Linked DNA regions of Homo sapiens: region 1 is linked to region 2. Evidence: promoter capture Hi-C in human tissues and cell types (Jung and others, 2019). All regions are on one chromosome and are shown on one strand. The core of a region is centred on a gene start or on the middle of the fragment in contact, and the rest is flanking DNA. Distances in the headings are between cores, read along the strand shown. Region 1 overlaps FBXW5 (F-box and WD repeat domain containing 5). Region 2 holds the start of DNLZ (DNL-type zinc finger).

Evidence for each region. Contacts are between HindIII fragments. The study calls those that stand out against the background at their distance.
Region 1: a contact is called between a fragment that was not itself captured here and the fragment with the promoter of DNLZ in region 2, in 1 of the 25 tissues and cell types used here (spleen).

What each region holds. Positions count from the first base shown.
Region 1 is chr9:136,938,423-136,942,876 of GRCh38, forward strand. FBXW5 (F-box and WD repeat domain containing 5) reads right to left here. Exons shown (of 9, transcript NM_018998.4): 4 at 4,347-4,454; 5 at 4,125-4,273; 6 at 3,624-4,044; 7 at 3,115-3,262; 8 at 2,829-3,041; 9 at 2,013-2,749. The coding sequence ends at 2,506. Among named protein-coding and RNA genes, the nearest start is that of FBXW5, 4.1 kb to the right of the region's middle. RefSeq lists an enhancer at 1-248. The HindIII fragment of the contact is 5,626 bases long and covers 1-4,454 here.
Region 2 is chr9:136,362,243-136,366,768 of GRCh38, forward strand. DNLZ (DNL-type zinc finger) reads right to left here and starts at 1,502. Exons shown (of 3, transcript NM_001080849.3): 1 at 1,245-1,502; 2 at 747-886. The coding sequence starts at 1,472. It overlaps CARD9 (caspase recruitment domain family member 9), which reads right to left. Exons shown (of 13, transcript NM_052813.5): 11 at 2,899-2,975; 12 at 2,241-2,317; 13 at 1,714-2,159. The coding sequence ends at 2,060. LOC124902309 (a long non-coding RNA gene) reads left to right here and starts at 1,127. Exons shown (of 2, transcript XR_007061863.1): 1 at 1,127-1,210. RefSeq lists silencers at 858-1,137, 1,238-1,737, 1,768-1,867 and enhancers at 2,079-2,969, 2,970-3,859. The HindIII fragment of the contact is 10,875 bases long and covers 1-4,010 here.

The DNA of each region.
Region 1 (4,454 bases), core at 1,130-3,629, 580 kb after region 2:
TAAGTACAAAAGGGGTTTCACCGTGTTGGCCAGGCTGGTCTTGATCTCCTGACCTCAAGTGATCCGCCTCGGCCTCCCAAAGTGCTAGGATTACAGGCATGAACCACCACGCCCGGCCTGACCTCAGCATATGTTTTCTGAGGACTTCTGTTCTTTTGCTAATTCAGTCACTTTCTCTTTAAACACTGGGTCTCCACCCCTGCCCCGTAGATGGGGTGGGGGCATGCATGCCGCTCCATTCCCCTCCCAGGGCTGTGTTTCTTTCGTCTCCTCTGTGCCATCTTCTGCTGCCTGGTCCTCTCGTCGAGTCTGTCTGGTCCAGCACTTTCCACATATCAAGATTTTTTTTTTTTTCTTTTCCTTTTTTGAGACAGAGTCTTGTTCTGTCGCCCAGGCTGGAGTGCAGTGGTGCAATCTCGGCTCACTGCAAGCTCCGCCTCCCAGGTTCACGCCATTCTCCTACCTCAGTCTCTCGAGTAGCTGAGACTACAGGCGTCCGCCACCGCGCCCGGCTAATTTTTTGTATTTTTAGTAGAGACAGGGTTTCACCTTGTTAGCCAGGATGGCCTCGATCTGACCTCGTGATCTGCCCACCTCGGCCTCCCAAAGTACTGGGATTACAGGCGTGAGCCACCGCGCCCGGCCTACGTATCAAGCTTTTGATGCAGTCACTCGCCCTGTCATTTTCCAGTGTCTAATTGGCTCCCTTTTTATTTTGAAATGTCCAAGTCCTCTTGATTTCTGTCCCCACTTTTGTTTTATGGTGCATAGGAATGTTTTTGTTAGTCTCCTTGAATGTGAACGTAGGTAAGTCCTTTTCAGGAAATTGCTCAATTCTTTGGAGCCTGCCCGTGGTGTGCTTGCATTTACAGAATCTGTCAGCTCCCTTCTGAGGGTGTTAGTCTCAGGGCAGCTTATCTTGTCTGGGGGTCTTTGGTGTGTCTTCCTTCCTTTCCTTGTTCTCGCCCACGTTGGGGGTTTTATTATGAACTGCAGTGGTCCCCAGGGCTTCCCAGCTGGAGACCAGGAGTTGGCAGGGCAGAGGCTCCGTCCCTCTGGGTGGCGCAGCCTCTCTCGGTGGTGCTGTCCCTGATCCCGTCGGTGCTCGAGCTCAGCCCCAGGGTCTCTACCTGCGGCCCACGTGGCTCAGGGGAACCATCACCTCGACACTCACTCGTCTCCTCTGCGTCCTTTCTCTGTACGGGGTTGCTTGCTGCCATGTTTGGAGCCACAAGCTCTGTGTGCTTCCTATAATGGGCAGCTGACCCGAGTGCCAGGCTCTACTCCTGCCATCTTCCTTGTCACCACCATCGCCCCGGGCCCCCGAGCTCCCGGTGCAGTTCCAACAAAGCCTGTGGGGTCCAGCTGGAGCTCCACCTCTGCTCCCACTTCTGGGCCCCTGGTCCCATCCTCGCCGGCCTGAACTGACTGTGGAGACCGCCCTGGCACTGGGAGCGACACGGCCTGCCGACTCTGGACCCAGCAGCCGAGGGACTCCCTCAAGGACGGGACTGTGGGGGGCCGCCCTGGCACTGGGAGTGACGCAGCCTGCCAACTCTGGACCCAGCAGCCGAGGAACTCCCTTAAGGATGGGACTGACTGTGGGGGCTGCCCTGGCACTGGGAGCGACGCAGCCTGCCGACTCTGGACCCAGCAGCTGAGGAACTCCCTCAAGGACGGGACTGACTGGGGGGGCTGCCCTGGCACTGGGAGTGACGTGGCCTACTGACCCTGGACCCAGACGGCAGGCCCTGCATGCTGCCAGCCCCGGCACATGTGCCAGGCATCTCCCTGGAGGTCATGGAGGACAGGGCAGTGTGACAAAGTCTGGCACCAGCACATGACCTCAGACGCACATGTCACCTGTCAGCAGTGACTGCAACATTCACTCCAGTAGGACCACTGTGCCAGCAATAACAGCGTCACCCGTCAGCAGTGACCATGAGGTCCACTCCACTGTGCCAGCAGTGCCCACAGTCTCCCTCCCTGCAGACAGAGACTGGACAACAATGTGCTGTTGCCAACTGTTTATTCAGGGCCCTGAACGGGTGGTGCGTGGACATGCAACACACTCGGGCCCACAGCAGCGTGACCGGCCGCTCCCAAGCCCCGGGCGCACAACCACAGCCAGGAGCAGCCCCTGCCACCACTGGGCCACCGTCCAGGGCCCCACAGGACCAGCCGAAGGTGCCCCGGGCCGAGGCCAGCTGGGTCAGGTGTACCCCTAGCCTGGGGTTGAGTGAGGAGCGGCACCCCCAGTATCCTGTGTACCCCAAGTTGCCCAGGAGGCCGAGGGGGCCTTGGGCTCCATCTGCACTGGCCACCCCGTGCCAAGCATCACAGCTGCGTGAGCAGGTTTGTGTGTGAGCGTGTGGCGGGGCCTGGTTGTCCCCTTCCTAAGGCGTAACTGCTATAAGCATCTCCACCTCTCCCGCTCGGGAAAAAGCCACAGAGCCTGGCGATGTCCTCAAGGGGTCCCGGTGGCTCCAGTGCACCCAGCACACCTCAGCGCCTCTGGCTGGCAAGCCAGGAGAAGAAGGTGCGAGGCCGTGGGCGAGGTGCCTGGAGGACGCGCATGGTGCGTGGGGAGCGCCAGGCTTTGATGGTGGCGTCGTCGCTGGCCGTGAGCAGCAGCTCCTGCTCCTGGGGACTGAAGACCACTGAGTTGACCACATCCTCGTGCCGCAGCCTGGCCAGACAGATGTTGTAGTGGCGGTCCCAGATGTAGCCGTGCCGGTCCTCCGCCCCGCTGCAGAACAGCGCCTGGGTGAGCCGGCCGCCCGCCCGCTGCTGCCCACACCCGCCCTGCACCACGCCGCGCCCTGCACCTGGCCACGAAGTCCCTGCTGACGTCCAGGAAGATGAAGAAGCACTCGTCGTTGGGCGTGTAGGCGCGGTGCGCACGCAGAGCCCGCCTCACCTCCCGCATGGTCTTGAGGTCGAACACCAGCAGGTCAATCTCCTCCGCGATTGGTGGCGGCTGCATGGGGTCGGCCACCACCGCACCGTTGGGCCAGGCGCGGCTGTTCACGTACAGGTACCTGGGCGAGGGGCACTGTGCTAGGTGTGGGCCGCCTGCGGGCACCCCGCCTGGGACACTGGCAAGAGGCCCACCTGTTGTCGGGCGACAGGCCCATGCCGATGATGTGTCCGTGTATGTCTATGACGTGGTCCAGCGCGTCGAAGAAGGCATCGGAGCCCCGGCCCTCACCCAGCACGGGCCCTGCCGTGGTCATCTGGTGTGGCAGGATCTGCTTGATGCCTGCAGGGAGGGCTACGGTGAGGGTCCCTGTCCAATGCCCCAAGGACATCACTCCAGGGCAGCTTCCTACCTCAGTGGTGTCTCTGGGGCTGTGAGCACCACAGAGGTCCGTGGGCACTGCCTGCTCCGGGGGCCCCAGACCTGAATCAGGCCCGTCGGTTGCTTGCTGGCCAGCGGCCCTGCCTGCGTTTGTTTTCACTGCTCATCCCACAGGCCCCAGGTCTGGGCTTGTGACCCCAGGGGCGAGTGAACGATCCCAGCTTTGCCTGTGGACTTGCTTGCTGTCTGCCCCTCAGGACCCCTGCCCGGCCTCCCCCAAGCTCCTAGGACCGAGGCGGGCAGCATGGCGGCAGGGGTGTACCGATCTGGTGTGGGGAGTAGGTGAGGCAGCCAGTGGTGAAGATGAGGTACTTGCTCTTGGCGCCTGTGGCACTGCGCTCGGGTGGCTTGGTGTGGCCCTGGGCCAGCAGCTCGGCCACCTTGGTCTCTAGCATGCGCTCCGACAGCTGTGGCTGCGCCCGCCCCTCCAGCACGCGGTCCAGAAAGTGCCGCAAGCCCTCCTTGGCGTGGGCGGGGGCCGGGCCAGCCACCACCTCCTCGTTGTCGCTGCCCAGGTCAAAGATGCGGCAGGGGGACGTGGCCGGGTCACCGGCTTCCAGCAGCAGGTCAGGGCTGTCGAAGCGGCTGCAGTCGGCCACCATCACCGTGCGGACGGTGCTGGCATTGAGGTTCTGGATCTTGAACAGCCGCTTCACCACGTTGACGTTCTCTGACTCCACATCCTGGGGGCGGGGGCACGTGCCAGGTGGGCGCCGGGCGCCAGGCCCCAGGAGGGCAGCCCCGCCCCTAGCCCCGCACGCACCTGGAAGGCATTGTTGAGCCACAGCACCGAGCAGGAGGTGATATCTCCGATGCGGTGCAGGTTCCCCGAGATGAGGCTGGTCTCGGTGAGCCAACAGCCAAACACGTCATAGGGCTTGTTCCGCACGCGGGACAGCAGCGCGAAGGAGTCTGTGGGGAGGCCGGGGCTGGACAGGCTGTCGGCGTGGGGCGGGGGCAGGGTCAACCCGCCGCCCGTGCTCACCTAGGCTGATGACAGCAATCTCGCCGGATGAGGAGTTGTGCGGCCCCAGGAACACCCCCGAGGCCAGCAGTAGCGAGTCGTCCTTGTTGAACTGGGAGAACTGGGTGT
Region 2 (4,526 bases), core at 252-2,751:
CTCAGGGCGCCCCATGGCCAGGCCAGAGCTGCAAGCACCAGGCCCAGCACTCCTGTGGCATCAGGCCACACGGGCACTTCAGACGCTGGCCTGTGTGCCCTCACCAGCCCTGTGTCTCTGCCGGTATGCGCCGCCTCAGGAACCCAGTCTCCTGCTCCTGCCCCCTATGTGCCAGAGGGAAGAATCTGCAGCCCCGGGTCTGATGGGAGGACAGTCCCAGCTCCAAGGGCCAGGTACCACCAAGCACCTGGCATGCTGGTCTCAGACCTGCTGTCGCTGTTACTGTCCTGCCCAGGACCTCCCGGCCAGGCAAGGCCCGGACCAGGCTCCCGGCACCACCTCCACTGCTCTCCCAGCAGCCAGGGCCCAGGCCACACCTCCTGGTCCACACCCCAAGCCTTGCTGTGGGCCAGCCACCCCAAGATGGCAGAGGGCAAAAAAGTTCCACGCTAGAGAGGGACAAGGCTGCCAGTGATGGCAGAGGGCAGGCAGAGGCAGGGAGGCAGGGCCACAGGGCTGGCAAAATTTAACAAATAAAAACGCACCCCCTACTTGGGGCATACTTAAACTCAAAAGCTATCTGGGCTTTATAGGAAATTCTCATTTAACTGTGTGTCTTGTATTGATAAGGTGGCTGGATTTCCCAGGTGAGATCTATAAACCTCAACACTAGGGCAAGGTTCCCCCAGGGAGGCCAGGGTACTTCTGGGTGGCCTTCTGGCCCAGCCCTGGGGTACAGGCCTCACCTCTTCCCATTCAGGTCCGAGAACCAGCCCAGGTTGTCAGCGATGATATGGTGGTTCTGGCAGCCGGGGCAGGTCACAATGACCACGCCTTGGTGATAGGCCAGCTTGGAGATGCGCTTGGAGGACCTAGTCCCGCAGACCTGGCTGGGACAGGGTAGCTGGTGAGGCTGTGAGGGCCGCCACGCCCCTCCCGGGAAGACCCGCCCCTCTAGGGGTAGCTCCAGCCACCTCACCCTCTCCAGAGAAGGCCCCGCCCCCGAGGGATAGCTCCACCCACCCCCAACCTCGCCCTCTCCCGGGAAGGCCCCGCCCCAGGGACGGCTCCACCCCTCCTCATGGTCCGCCTCCGCTCCCTCCCAGAAGCCCCAAGGGGTGGCTCCACTCCTTCCTGTGACTTGACCACGCCGCCTCCCGGATCCCCGGCGGGCCGCTTCTCCCCGCAGGCCGTGTAGCGTCAGATACGGGTCTGTCCCCGGTTCCGTCCCGCCGCGCGCCTACCTTGCAGGTGTAGACGAGCTGGTAGTGCGCCGCCTCCACGCGCCCCAGAGCCGCCGCGGGCCCCGGCCCCTGCTCGGAGCTTGAGCGCCGCCAGCCCCAGGCCCAGGCCCGCCGCCTCCCCGCGACCTCTGGACGGGCCCCGCGGCCCCACAGCCGCCTCAGGCAGGGCGCCCGGGGCTGCACGCGACTCAGCAACCTCGGCGCGCCGCGCAGCGCAGTCCGCAGCATCCCGCTCGCCGGCTCCGTCCGCCCTGCCCCGGCCCCGCCCCGCCGCCATCTTGGAAGTGGGCGCCGGGCGGAAGCGGCGTTCTTGGGCTTCCGTCTTCCGGGTCGGGGGCGCGCTGCGCTATGCCGCCCCCTGGCGGCCTGAGGGGGCCCTGCGTCCACGTGCAGCTCGCACCCCGAGGACACCGCGGGCCGCAGCGAGGAGGGACGGCCGCGGGGCTGCGCGCGAGTGTCCGAGCGGGAATGCGGGTCACCCGTGCTGTTTATTTACGCAGCTGTGTTTTCTAACACTAATACAATGCATGCATGTATTGTGTGTTACATGGTGAAACAGAACAGATCCTGAAGTTACACAGATGGCGTGTGCATGGGGGTGGTGAGCACCCGCATGGCCTCCGCAAAATGAGTGCCGCTTAACAAACGGCCCCAATGCCCGGCAGTCCGGCTGGGCCTTTCAGGGCACCAGATTCCTCGTTCCAGGCCAAGTCAGCGACGGCTCGGGGAAGTCTGCGCCCCAGGGCGTCGGCACCCCCGGGTGGCAGGAGGCCGGGCCGGTGGGTGTGCCCTGGTCGGGGCCTGCGCTGCTGCGGCTAGGAGCCCTCAGTGTCGGTGTTGTCGCTGCCCGTGGTGTTCTCCCGGTCCTCCTCCCCCTGCCGCCATCCTTTCTGCATCTTCCTGAGGGCGCGCTTCCTGTGAAGACAGGTGTCTCAGGCGCGACCCGGCTGCCGCTCCCCAGCCCGTTTTGGAGAAGCCTGGGGGCCGCCCGCCTACCTGCGGTAGTTCTCAAAACTCTCTTTGAGGCGCCGCCGCTCCTTCTCGGGCGGCTCCCCGCTGCTCAGGCCTGCGTCCTGGAGAAGGGGGAAGGCTCGGGCTCCGGCCGGCTCCCCTGAGGGAACCCGTCCTTCTCACCCGCCCCCCACTGGCCCCTGTAACTGCAGACTGGTTGGGAGGCGAGGAGCCCAGACAGCCTCAGCTCAGCGCCAAGCTCTCCCTGTGGGACCTGCCTGTACCCCTGGAGGTGAGCCGGTGTGGGTAGCCTGCATTTCAGATGCCAAGACACACCCAGGAGGCCAAGCCACGGCTCCAGCCTGGGGTCCGGGCCATTGTTTCTACAACAAAGCCCGAGGTGGTGCTTGCTCTCAGGACTCCTGTGTTCACCTCCTCATCCACTGTAAAGGCCCTCGGAAAACCAGGACCAGGCACATCCACGTCCAAAAAGCCCCCCAAGCTGCTGCAGTGCCCAAGAAAGGGGGATCCACTTCGCAGCCCAGACACCGCACCCCGAGCACTGTGGGCAGAGACCTTGTGGTCACTCCTCAGCTGTCGTCGGGGCCACCGCAGGGGGTGCCCAGGGCAGGGAGCCACTCTCCCTGTGATCGGTCACCCTGAGGCCCACGGCTGGGAGGACCCCACCCCGGGGAAGCCTTACATGGGGGTTCCGCAAAACCTGCTCCTGGTGCAGAGCTGCAAAGGGCTGTTTCGGGCTCCCCCCGCCGGCAAGGCAGCCTGGAAAGGAGAGTCGTGCCTGTGGGACCTGCCCATCTGCTGGGCCACGTATAGCACGGCTGCCCCACCCCTCCCCGGCATTGCAGTGGGGCTGTCTTCCAAGGCCTGGTGGGATCCCCACATGGGTCCAGTGTAGACTCTGCTTTCTGTAGATGAGACTGAGGCCTTATGGCCTCGCTTGCCTGTTCATTGCTCCAGGAGGCCGCCAGATGCCAGCCCAGGCCCAACGCTCCCGCCAGTGACCATCCCTCCCCCGAGCTGGCTGCCTGCCAGGGAGGAACGCCTCCCAGACCTCGGGGGAACTTAAACCCTGGGCCTGAGCAGCACCGTCCCCCATCACTCCAAAGCATCTGTGGGCATGGCGGCCCTGGGGAGAGAGTTGGGGACAGCTACAGTGGCTGTCTGGGTCCTCCTGAAGTGGGGGCAGGGGTACTGCAGCAATTGGGAGAGAACCTTCAGGCGGCTGGACCCCCTCAGAAACCGCCAGGACCTGGGCAGACCAGGGATCAGGACCCTTGGGCAGAAACCACGCACGTCCAGTCTCAGCCCCACTGCGGTGAGGGCCAGGCCAGGGCTGTCCTGGCCATTGGCAGCCCCTTAGAGCCAGCCCCTCCCCTGCTCACCCTCCAACCTTCACACCTGCCCCTGCTCCTGCCACAGCCACCCAGGGGGATGGGGGCAGTGCCTGAGCCGGACTCCTGGGTCCTGCTCGCCTCTGTGCCTACATGGGGGCTTGGCATCCCCATGTTCAAGTGTTCTGAGCTGCAGCCAAAGGCGCTGGTCTTCACTTCCCCGTCTGCGGCTCCTCCTTCCCCTTCCGCCTCTGCTTGGAGGCCACGGCCTGGTACTCAGGAAGCTTGTCCAACTCCGGTGCAGCCTCCCAGGACCCCTCTGCTGGGCCCTCCCCAACCCCTACCTGACAGCACCTTCAGTGCAAACACCTACCTCATCACCACTGCCCACTCCTGGACACTCGGGAGCTGCTCCCAGCTAGCCACCCAGTCCTTCCCCCAGACAGGCAGAGGGGGCCTGCCCTGCCCGCTAGAAGCCCCTGCCACTGCCTTACCCCCACTGCACCGGGACACAGCAGGCCCTTGGCCACCCCTGCATTCAGCCCTTTCCCTCAAGCCACGTGGGGCCCCATCTCGCCCCATCTTCTAGCTTCATGCACCTGGTCGTTCGCTCGTTACCACCTCCCTCTGTCCAGGAGGAAGCTTGGAGCAGCCAGGACTGGGCCTGCTCACCTCTGCACCCCGTGGGGGCTGCCCAGAGGGGCCCCACACTCTCAGGACGGTGGGCCTGCTCACCTCTGCAGCCCATGGGGGCTGCCCAGACCCCCACACTCTCCACCCCAGGGGACACTTGTCCCACTAGCTGGGGCCCTGGGTTCCAGCTGGGCTCTGTAGTTTGTTCTCTAGGTGACCTTGACCATTTTACTTATCCCCAGCCCCAGTTTCCCTGTCTGTGGAGTGGGGGTTGTGGGGGTTGACACAGGCATTGCGGCACGGGCTGCCTGTGCTGAAGATGGGCCTCACTTGGGGAAGCTGGGAG